Linked DNA regions of Homo sapiens: regions 2, 3 and 4 are each linked to region 1. Evidence: promoter capture Hi-C in 16 types of primary human blood cells and fetal thymus (Javierre and others, 2016). All regions are on one chromosome and are shown on one strand. Each heading gives the region's core, a stretch centred on a gene start or on the middle of the fragment in contact. The rest is flanking DNA. Distances are from core to core; before and after follow the strand shown. Region 1 holds the start of ASB13 (ankyrin repeat and SOCS box containing 13). Region 2 overlaps FBH1 (F-box DNA helicase 1). Region 3 overlaps NET1 (neuroepithelial cell transforming 1). Region 4 overlaps ANKRD16 (ankyrin repeat domain 16).

Region 1 (2,629 bases), core at 1-2,500:
CAGTGCAAATGGCTTGAAATTCCATTCCCAGGCCTGGGGCTCCACATTTCCAGGGGCTCTGCTTTCCAAAAGATATGGTTCAATGTCCCCTAGGTATAGTGCCTTCGGTCTGGACTGCAGATGGAGACCTGGGTCATCCCAGAAGCTTTGTAGTGTGAGAGATCAAACTGGCTGCTCTGCCAGGCCTCACCTATTTCCAGACTGGATGATTCCTGATACTTTTACTTTTGAGCCCAAACTAACTTCTGCATGGAGGTTCAGTACAGGTCAGGTGAGTGACGAATCTCCTGACAGGGCTACAGTGAACTTTCACAAGGTTAAACCTTCTAAACTTGGGAAGCTGCTTTGCAAAAATAAATAAATAAAATAAAAATCCCTTACTCAATTGTTGACTGGGTATTATTCCGGAAACAGGAAACAGGTTTTTCATTTCTGCCAGGTTGTGCCCCAGCTTCCATTTGCTAAGCAGCTTAGGGGAACATTGGATTAAAAACCACCCGTAAAGAAAAGGCATTAAGAAATTGATTTGAACGATTTGAAATTATTATCTTGAAAGATCAAAGAAACAGTGATTATGAACACCGGCTCTGGTGGGAAGCGGTTCTTGAAAGTTAAAGCATGGGGGAACTCGAGTACTCTGGAGCATCATCAGCATCTGTACAATGCAAGTGAACTCTGGAAGCTAGACGCATGCTTTGCACGTGGACACAGACACATGCTTGCACAGGACACATTTGCAATACATACATGTTTATACATGGACACATGTTTTGCACACGCTTGCACAGGACACGCTTGCACAGGACACATGCACAGGATGCATGTTTTGTACAGGACACATGTTTTGCACATGGAAACACATATCCATGCTTTGCAAAGGGACACAGGGAAGCATGCTTACAATGGATACAAGTTTACACACGGACGCATGTTTTGCACAGGACATATGCACAGGATGCATGTTTTGCACACGGACACACACGTTTACATAGGACAAGTGCACAGGACACGTTTTGCACCGGACGTATTCTGTGCACGGGACGCACGGTTTGCAGATGCAAGCACACACACTCCTCGGCGCGACGGGCGAAGCGGGGTGGGCAGCGACAGCGGAGTCCGGACCCAGGGACAGCGCCTCCGGGAACCTCGCCAAGGCGGCGGGAACTACAACTCCCGGCTCGGTCGCCTCGGGACGACGCGCGGCCCAGCGCAGACTGGCCCCGCCCAGCGGCCCCGCGCGGCCCGGCCCAGGTCCCGGCGCCCAGAGTCGCCGCGCGGCCGCCGGTGAGCCGCATGGAGCCCCGGGCGGCGGACGGCTGCTTCCTGGGCGACGTGGGTACGTGCGGGCGCCGCGGAGGTCAGAGCGAGGCAGCGGCGCCGGCTCCTGAGGCCGGCCGCGTATCCGATGGCCTGCGCCGGGGAGGTGGTGGCGCGCCCCGCGCTGGCTCCGTGGGCGGGGGCGTTTGGCGGGGTGGGCCGCGGTGAAAGCAGGGTCCCAGTGGTGCCGCGCATCCCAGACGGGCTCTCATGTCTGGTGCCTTGTCCCAGGCCAGCGCACTGCGGGGTTGCAGTCCGTGCGGCTCGCCAGGTGTGGGGTTTCGCAACCGCAAACCCACCGAGCGCCGCGCGCCCTGGGGAAGGTGCGGGACGCGTGCGGGGCCGTTGCCCAGTGGCGGGGGAGAGCCTGGGAAACGCCCACGGTGCTCCCTCTCGGGGAAGCCAGGCGCGAGCCCACGGTAAGAGCTAAACCCCCCTCCACTGGCGCGGGTGAGGCCGTGGCGCAGTGTCCGAGCATCCTGCAGAGGCGTCCGCGTGACCCCGACTCCGCTCCAGTGAAGGTGGCCTTGGGGCACCCCGGCACACTCCGAAAAGTGCCATCCCAGTTCGCAGCCTACTTTACCAAAATCCGAGCAGCCCAAGAATGAAATGGATTTGAGGGAAGGACACTCTTTGGGGAAGCAAATTTTTTTGCTGCCTATGAAGCAATAATATGGTCACTGAAATGAGCGACGGAAGCACTATGAAAGCCTAAAAAGAAAAAAAAAATCTAAAGCATATTCATCCTGGTAAAAACAGTAGTGCACCTAAGAGGGAAAAGTCTTAAGGGTAAATTTAGCTGAAGAGGAAGTTGCAGTCATAGCAAGGCAAAGATATTTTAATTGACTTTGCAAAATAACCACCTTTGACATGATCAAAGGTATCTAATAAGCATGTGTTTTTACTTGGCATTCCAGTCCAGGCAAGCACAAGACTTTGACCCTGACACTGTGATCTGCATTTGATTAGCTTAATTGAGTAAGCAGTGAATAGCTAACGGCAGAAGCTTATTTAAACACATATTTTAATATTTCTGTTCATGGCATCACTTCTGAGCATGTCTTCTGCATCGTTTGTTATGGAATGCATCTGTAGAAGAAAGGCACATTTTAAACTAATGAATCCGCAACTTTTGAGGTTCACTGGTATTTTTGACATTGTCATTTTTTATTTAATATATTTCTCCCCAAATAAGTTCTGCTGATGTTTTTTATTCCCAGTGTAATGAATAAGCTGAATGTGTTGGATCCAAAACAATACTGCCATTCCAGCAGCACCAGAGGCGAACCGTAGGAGCTTTAGACAATTTTAA
Region 2 (2,629 bases), core at 90-2,589, 230 kb before region 1:
TACTCAACGTTCATGTCCCTGAAATTCACACACTGAAATCCTCACCCGCAAGGTGACGGTATGAAGTGGTGGGGCTCTGGGCCAGGCACAGTGGCTCATGCCTGTAATCCCAGCACTTTGAGAGGCCAAGGTGGGTGGATCACTTGAGGTCTAGAGTTCAAGACCAGCCTGGCAACATAGTGAAACCCCATCTCTACTAAAAATATAAAAATTAGCCAGGTGTGGTGGCGGGCACCTGTAACCCCAGCTACTCAGGAGGCTGAGGCCCAAGAATCACTTGAACCCGGGAGGTGGAGGTTGCTGTGAGCCAAGATTGTGCCACTGCACTCCAGCCTGGACAATGGAGAGAGATTGTGTCTCAAAAGAAAAAAAAAAAATGCGGTTCTAGGAAGTGATAAGGTCACAAGGGTGGAGTCCCCACAAATGGGATTAGTGCCCTTATAAGAGAGGTCTCAGAGAGCTCCCTTACTCCTGCCACCATGTGAGGACACAAAGAGAAGGTGCCGTCTATGAACCAGGAAGCGGCCCTCACCAGACACCAAATCTGCTGGCACCTCGATCTTAGACTTCCAGCCTCCAGATCTGTGAGTGAGAGAGACTTCTGCTTATAAGCGGCCCAGTTATGGTATTTTGTTATACCAGCCCAAATGGACTGAGGCAGCACACGTTCTGTGAATACTGAGTGGGTCAAGAAGGATGAGGAGCAGGGAGAAGAATTCGGCTGGGAGGTCCAGGAGCCTACACTCTAATCCCTAGGAATATACTACAGAACTGCTCCCACAGGGAGACCTCCCTGGTAGCTCACAACAGACTGATGACAGAACATCAAAAATGTTCAGTCCCAAAGGGAACTGCTTTGGAAAAGGTAATATGAACAGGATAGATTTTTATTTATGTATTTATCTCAGAAAATACGTCTGAATCCAAAATGCTTGTTGCGAAGATTAAGTGTTTGCAGAAATCTAACAAAGACACAGGAGTAACAGAAAGTGCTAATGGGAGTGTTGGAACACTGTGTTCTGCTTCAAGGGAGTCCCGGTATATTCCAATATGTTCTGGCATGAAGCCACCCTGGGAGGAACTGAGGTTCGGTACCGGGGGAGGGGCGCTTAGACTGGTGATCTGGCCTCTGTGCACTAAGATAAGTAACCTATATAACTGGAATGGCGTTACCAGCCATAGTTTGGCTGGCGGGAGAGCTGGTACTTTTATTGGATTTTTATTAACACTTTTATTGGATTCCCCACCCCTTGGACTTATTGGATATATGTATCAAAAATAACTTTTCTAACGTCAGCTGGAGGTCAGGAAAACTAACCTGTATCTCTGGTCTCAGAGAGAGGTGCTGTGATGCTCTGAACTGGGAGCCAGGAGCCCTGTGTCCACCTCCTCCGCAGGAGCCCTGTGTCCACCTCCTCTGCAATTACACGCTTTACACTTAATGTTCCCTTAAAGCCCCTCCGAGGCTGTGGGGTGCAGGAGAAGACCCACACTTGGCAGGTATATTCATCGCCAAAGCCTTGCTTATGAAAACGAGGATTATAATAACCTGCCATGCTGAATTCAGAGAATGAGACAATATATATGTAAGTACTCAAGCCACCCACATTGAGGGTGACAACACCTATCTCTAAATCTATGTCAACACCTAGCAACAGAAACGTCAGAAGAAATATGTGACTACCACACCAATCTGAGGGTCTCCTAAGGCACATCAGTTTTAATAGCATTAATGTTCTTGCTAAATGGTTAAAAATAAAACCAAAACACTACACTAGAATTCTAATCACCCTTCTATTCTTATTAATATACCTTTTTAAAAAGCAGTTCAAAAATAACTTTATCAAAATAAGAATGCTCAAATGCTACTTCTTCCATAAAAATCCTCCTTCCCTGAGTCACGCAAAGCTCATGGTATGCCTCCCTCTCTACACAGCAAGTGCACTTTACACCTCCTGTAAAGGGCATTTACTGTTAGAAGCTGCTTGTGATTCTTTAGGGAATGAAATTATCTGTGGTGAATGACCACAGATAAAGGGAAGCTGTGTCTAAACTAGGGGTTCTTGTGGGTGCAGAGAGATTAGAATCACTTACGGGGCTTTGCAAACTCTACAAGGCCCCCAGAGTTGTTGAAATTGGTCTCCTACACACCAAATTCGGCATCTGTGCTCCCACCCTTGGACACTCTCTTCCACAATAACCAACAGAAATGTGTTAGAGCCCTCAGGTGTCAGGGTAGAAAAACCAGAATGTACACAAACCATTTTGTCAAATGAATATTCCCTAGGCTTAAGTAAGCTCATTCCCACACTGCCTTTTCTGTGACGGCTTTCTAACAGTGTGACTTCTCTGTCCTCCACCCCAGGGGTCCCCATTCCAGGACCCACCTCTCTTTGCTAACCCTCAGCTTTTAGCCCTACCCCAGCAATTCCTGGCCTTTGCTGACTTTGAAGTGGTCAGATCTGGAGTTTAGCCCTCCACCACCCCTCAAATCTCTTCACCTTGATGACAGTCTATCCCCTCCCAGCCCACTCTGACCCACTCCATGCCCTGGTGAGGTCCCCCGATGGAGATGAGACCCTTATCAGTCTCCCCTGAACGAGTCCTTACAAGAACTCTGCTACGGGGA
Region 3 (2,629 bases), core at 70-2,569, 230 kb after region 1:
ACAGGCAAAGAGAAAACAAAATCTAAGCTCTCTGCTGCCCTCTACACGAGATATTGTGAAATGCAATTGTCAACCTGTTTTTCAACTTTGTAATTATATTTGTAACGACATTACATAGATGACTACATAAACAATCTCTTAATTTGTGGAAAAATATGACCAGTAAAATCTGTATTTTCAGTCTTTGTACAGCCTTCATGTCTTATATTACTAAATTAAACATATATTTTAAAATGATACAAGTATATGAAAAAGATTCCACAATTCACAAGAAATATTTTAAGAACTTTTTCTAAATATAAGAAAACTACATTCCATTTTAAAACTCTAGAATTCAAGATTACAAGCATATACTCTGTATCTCACTAAAAATAGGTTAGTTAAAAATAAAATTTTAAATCTTACTAAAAAGGAAGTATTAATTGAAAAGTGGAACTTTTGAAAAACCATAGTTCCAAAATATCTAGTAATAACTTAAAAACAAAAAGAGTTACATTTGAACTGGATAAGTACGAAAGAAATTAGTAATGAAGTTATATGTGATTTGAATCTCCAAGTTTAGTACTAAGAATTTGGTTTGGGGAAAAAACATCAGTTTAGACCAATTAAGTATTATTAGACACACTTTAAATAAAATAGTCTCATAGGCTAATAAGTTTGGTATTGTCAAAACAATGGTTCTTTTGTGCGATGACAACACAAATAGCCAATCAAATGGGGTATCAGCACTGTTAGTGGTGACTTTTTATCTCAGGTAACGAATAACTTCCAGTATAACGTAAGACCACTTAGTCTTCTGTAACAAGCTGTTGAATGGGATTCCTCCCATTTTTCCCTGAACTTCAGCTTAAGGCCCCAAACTAAAGACAAAAGGATATTGTGTCTTGTGCCCAGCCTCCTGTTTTCTCAGCCCAATTTGACATTGCCATAGCAACTGGCTCCCCACAGGAGTGACCCCACAGTCCCTTGCCTCAGCTGCACTGTGTATCTCTTGCCTTCCACCCTGGGCTTCTTGGATGCTGCTGTGTGGCACATGCACATGTGTAGCCACGGGTGTGTGGGATGGACACCCGAAAGGCCACTTGTTGACTAACGGAGCACAGAAGCTGCAGGATAAAAGCTCCCCTCTTCAGTCCGTTGAGAGGAGAAGTCTGTGGTGTGTTTTACACAGCTCTTCAGAGGGTTCCAGAGAGATCTACCCCACTGCCCACAGTAGTGACAGCTTAATTAGACACTGCACGGGCCTCCTCTCTTTCACTTCTCCAGCTTGTTCCCTGGGATCATACCTCAAGAAAGACACCTGTCAATGAGTCCTCGTTTTAGGCTCTGATTTCTGGAGGGAGAACCCAGGCTAAAATATGGACACTGAGATTGGTCCTAGAGATCAGAAACACAGGATGGGACTCTGAAACAGACTCACTCACTAGTAAAATGGTGATAAGGACTACAGGTATGAATAGGGATGAGACACAGAGTAGTGAGGCAATGCCTTACATAGTAGTGGTGGCAAATGAACAAGAGAGGGGCAGTGGTAATTGTAATGATTGTAGTGTTTACTGGCTTTGGCTAATTGCTTTAAAAGATTTGAAAAAGCAGCTGACAGAACTTTCATAATGTTCTCAGCACCATGGTGGGAATAGCTAAGTGGGAGTCCCTGAAATTTCACCCCTTACACCTGGGCCAAGATGGTAAGTCAGAAGCAGTATTGCACACCAGGAGAAAATGCAGAGATCAGCCATCAGAGTTACGGACTGCACAAGTGATAGTCTCCACTAGATCCTCATTCTGTTTATCTGAGTGCCTCTTACAATAATGAGGTGGACTGTGGTAAATGACAGTGGACCACTGTAAACTTAAGTGGTAGTTCCAACCTCAACTGTTGTGCAAGATGTAGAGTCTACTGGAGCAGACCAACAAATCATCTAGCATTTGTTACATGGTTATGGTTGTGGTTACTGATCTGGCCTATGTGTTCTTTTCAATCCTCATTAGTAAGAAGGGTCAAAAGTAGTTTGCTTTTAGGTGGGAAGGACAGCAGCCTGTGATTGCTCACGTCCTGAAGCTGTTCACTTTGTTTTCTGTCACAAAGTCGGCAAGGACCGGATATTTCACAGAACATCATACAGGCCCACTGTATTAATAACATTATACCAAAAAGACCTGGTGAATAGGAAGTGGAAAGTATTTTGGATATCCCAGTAAATCAAACGCATGCCACAAAAATTCAGAGGTTGCCATGTTGGAAAAGTTTTAATAGATCCAACGGCCTGAGGCTTTCTGGGATCTCCCCGCTACAGGAAAGGACAGGTGTTGCACCTTGCATCTTCTAGGCACAGTGCTAGCAGGACTCTTCATCTTTTGGAGGCAGTATCTGCTATATTTGGGAATGTTGCTGTGATAGTTTTGAGTAGGTCCCAGAGCAACAGAGGTCTCTGTAGCAGGTCCTCCAGGCTGTGGTGCAAACTGCCCTGCTGTTCAGGCCATGTGACCTGGTATATCACATCAAGGTTGGGTATTTATGGTAGACAAAGATGCTGTGTGATGCTCTGGCAAGGCCAGGAAGAGAACTGCAATGCAGAGCCTTAGGGTTCCAGAGCAAAGCTCTGCTTTCCACAGCAGAAAATGACTC
Region 4 (2,629 bases), core at 33-2,532, 210 kb before region 1:
TTTTTTATTTAGAATATTCAGAAACATCTGCTGAGAGCAAATTCTTTAGACTTGGACTTTAAAATAAACCCTCTAACATTCTGTGAGCCAAAGGCCATCTTGCAAGGGTTTAGTGGAATTTTTTTTTTTTTTTGGAGACAAAGTCTCGCTCTGTCACCCAGTCTGGAGGGCAGTGGCACGATCTTGGCTCACTGCAACCTCCACCTCCTGGGTTCAAGCGATTCTTCTGCCTCCCAAGTAGCTGGGACTACGGGTGCCCACCACCATGCCCAGCTAATTTTTGTATTTTTAGTAGAGACAGGGTTTCACCATGTTGGCCAGACTGGTCTCAAACTCCTGACCTCAAGTGATCTGCCCACCTCGCCCTCCCAAAGTGCAGGGATTACAGGCATGAGCCACCGCGCCTGGCCTAGTGGGATCTTTCTGATGCTTCAAAGACTCGCAGGTACCTAACTACTCACTCTAGGGCTGGAAAGGGCAGCTGCTCTGCCCAGGAAGGGACACAGCTTCTCTGCTGGAGGGAAAGCAGCAGAATCACCAGTGCCCCTGAACTCAGCACACCAGGAACCTCAGTGCTGATTTCTGCACCCAGAGTGGGAAGCTTGTTCAAAAGTGTTTTTTTGGCTACGTGATTATTTGTGGTGATATTTTTACTTACAAAGCAAATTCAATAAGCCTTTTAGAAAGTTTTTTGTACCATTTAAAGTGTGTTTCCAGAGCATTCAGGCGTATGAAGAGGATGTATCCTATATCTTGTTAACTTGCTCTGTTGCTTCTTGCTTTAGATAAGTTTCTTTTTCTTTTTTTTTTTTTTTTGAGGCAGAGTCTTGCTCTGTCACCCAGGCTGGCGTGCAGTGCTCACTGCAACCGCCACCTCCTGGGTTCAAGCGATTTTCCTGCCTCAGCCTCCCGAGTAGCTGGGATTACAGGCATGCACCACCACGCCCGGCTAATTTTTTAATTTTTATTAGAGATGGGGTTTCACCATGTTGGTCAGGCTAGTCTCACACTCTTGACCTCATGATCTGCCTACCTCAGCCTCCCAGAGTGCTGGGATTACAGGCATGAGCCACCACGCCCAGCCTAGATAAATTTCTTAAATCCTCTCTAACTGGTTTTGTTATCTTTAAAACTATTTTCAACCCAATCAGGTTAGAAACAAAAATATTTTGATCTAGTATAGGTGAAGTTGTGAAGATGGATTACGGAAGATATTGAAAGAATTGATATTTTTATTGGGCACTATCAACTCATGAGGTCAGTATTGCTCCAGGGATTGTGTTTTAAGTCCATGTGATTTTTGTCACCCCTCAGCCCTGCATCTGGCCTGTGCAGGTCAGCACTTGGCCTGTGCCAAGTTTCTCCTGCAGTCGGGACTGAAGGATTCTGAAGACATCACGGGCACCCTGGCTCAGCAGCTCCCAAGGAGAGCAGATGTCCTTCAGGGCTCTGGCCATAGCGCAATGACATAAGGATGTTTCCAAGAGGAGGCAATAAAGTGCATGGTAATTCATATCCTGCTTCTTAAGTCAGTCACAGATTCAGCGAAACCAGTTGGAAGCCAGTTTTCCATCTCCTCCACTTCCTCCCTTCCCTCATCCTGCATGTTCCACTCCTGCTGAGGAGTTCCCAGTGATCAGGGGGCTGAGTTCCCAGCTCCATGACAGGCACATTATGGAGTCCCAAGCACAGTCATAATCTTCCCGTAGTCCATATTTCACTCTTTGTACTCTTAAAGTAGAATAGATAACGTTTGCGCGATCAGGCTGTGGGATCCTTAGAGAAGCATGTACCATGCATGAATATAATATAGCATACACACTTTCACAAACATATGAAATATCTTATAGTAACTGCTGCATGGTAAGGCTGTGATAATAATAACAAAAATATCACATACGTTGCTATTAGCTTGAGCTATAAAATGCAGTTGGCCCATTTAATTTCTTCCTTCATAAGCTTTTACTTGGCCATTACAATGGTTCACTTTTGGTTTCGTAGCCAAGAAGGACATACTTATAATCTGTTTACACAGGCATTTACAAGAAATTAATAAAAACTTTTATATATTCTAAGCACTGCTAGTTAAGCTATCAAGTTTTAATCTTGAGGGTTTTTGTTTGTTTTAATAGATAAATTCAGTATTGACCCCCTTCAAGTAATAAATACATGTAAAAAATGTAACTAAGGACCGGGCATGGTGGCCCGTGCCTGTAATCCCAGCACTTTGGGAGGCTGAGGCAGACAGATCACTTGAGGCCGGGAGTTCAAGACCAGCCTGGCCAACATGATAAAACCTCATCTCTACTAAAAATACAAAAATTAGCCAGCTGTGCTGGTGCATGCCTGTAGTCCCAGCTACCAGTGAGGCTGAGGCCCGAGAATTGCCTGAACCCAGGAGGCAGAGGTTGCAGTGAGCTGAGATAGCGCCACTGCACTCCAGCCTGGGCGACAGAGCATGACTCCGTCTCAAAAAAAAAAAGAAAAAAAGAAAATGTAACTAAGATATTTACAAAACTTCTGTTAACCTGAGTTTAAGAATGGGGTTTTGTCTTTAAAACCCATTTTTCTGGCCTGTCCCATCCACCCACGGAAGCCTGTGACTTAAGGAATGAAACACTTGACATTT

The links. The method cuts DNA at HindIII sites, captures the fragments that hold promoters and counts their contacts. A CHiCAGO score of 5 or more calls a contact.
Region 2: a contact is called between a fragment that was not itself captured here and the fragment with the promoter of ASB13 in region 1, in 1 of 17 cell types (total B cells). The highest score is 6.1, in total B cells.
Region 3: a contact is called between a fragment that was not itself captured here and the fragment with the promoter of ASB13 in region 1, in 5 of 17 cell types (megakaryocytes, fetal thymus, naive B cells and 2 more). The highest score is 7.4, in megakaryocytes.
Region 4: a contact is called between a fragment that was not itself captured here and the fragment with the promoter of ASB13 in region 1, in 5 of 17 cell types (total CD8 T cells, megakaryocytes, endothelial precursors and 2 more). The highest score is 6.2, in total CD8 T cells.

The regions. Positions count from the first base shown.
Region 1 is chr10:5,665,216-5,667,844 of GRCh38, reverse strand. ASB13 (ankyrin repeat and SOCS box containing 13) reads left to right here and starts at 1,250. Exons shown (of 6, transcript NM_024701.4): 1 at 1,250-1,336. The coding sequence starts at 1,294. RefSeq lists silencers at 1,247-1,316, 1,617-1,666. The HindIII fragment of the contact is 2,178 bases long and covers 148-2,325 here.
Region 2 is chr10:5,896,160-5,898,788 of GRCh38, reverse strand. All of the region lies in intron 1 of FBH1 (F-box DNA helicase 1), which reads right to left. Among named protein-coding and RNA genes, the nearest start is that of FBH1, 7.2 kb to the right of the region's middle. The HindIII fragment of the contact is 3,818 bases long and covers 1-2,629 here.
Region 3 is chr10:5,439,666-5,442,294 of GRCh38, reverse strand. The region is part of intron 3 of NET1 (neuroepithelial cell transforming 1); the gene reads right to left. Among named protein-coding and RNA genes, the nearest start is that of NET1, 28 kb to the right of the region's middle. RefSeq lists an enhancer at 1-41. The HindIII fragment of the contact is 7,838 bases long and covers 1-2,629 here.
Region 4 is chr10:5,876,973-5,879,601 of GRCh38, reverse strand. It overlaps ANKRD16 (ankyrin repeat domain 16), which reads left to right. Exons shown (of 8, transcript NM_019046.3): 7 at 1,315-1,505. The coding sequence ends at 1,472. Among named protein-coding and RNA genes, the nearest start is that of ANKRD16, 12 kb to the left of the region's middle. The HindIII fragment of the contact is 1,358 bases long and covers 604-1,961 here.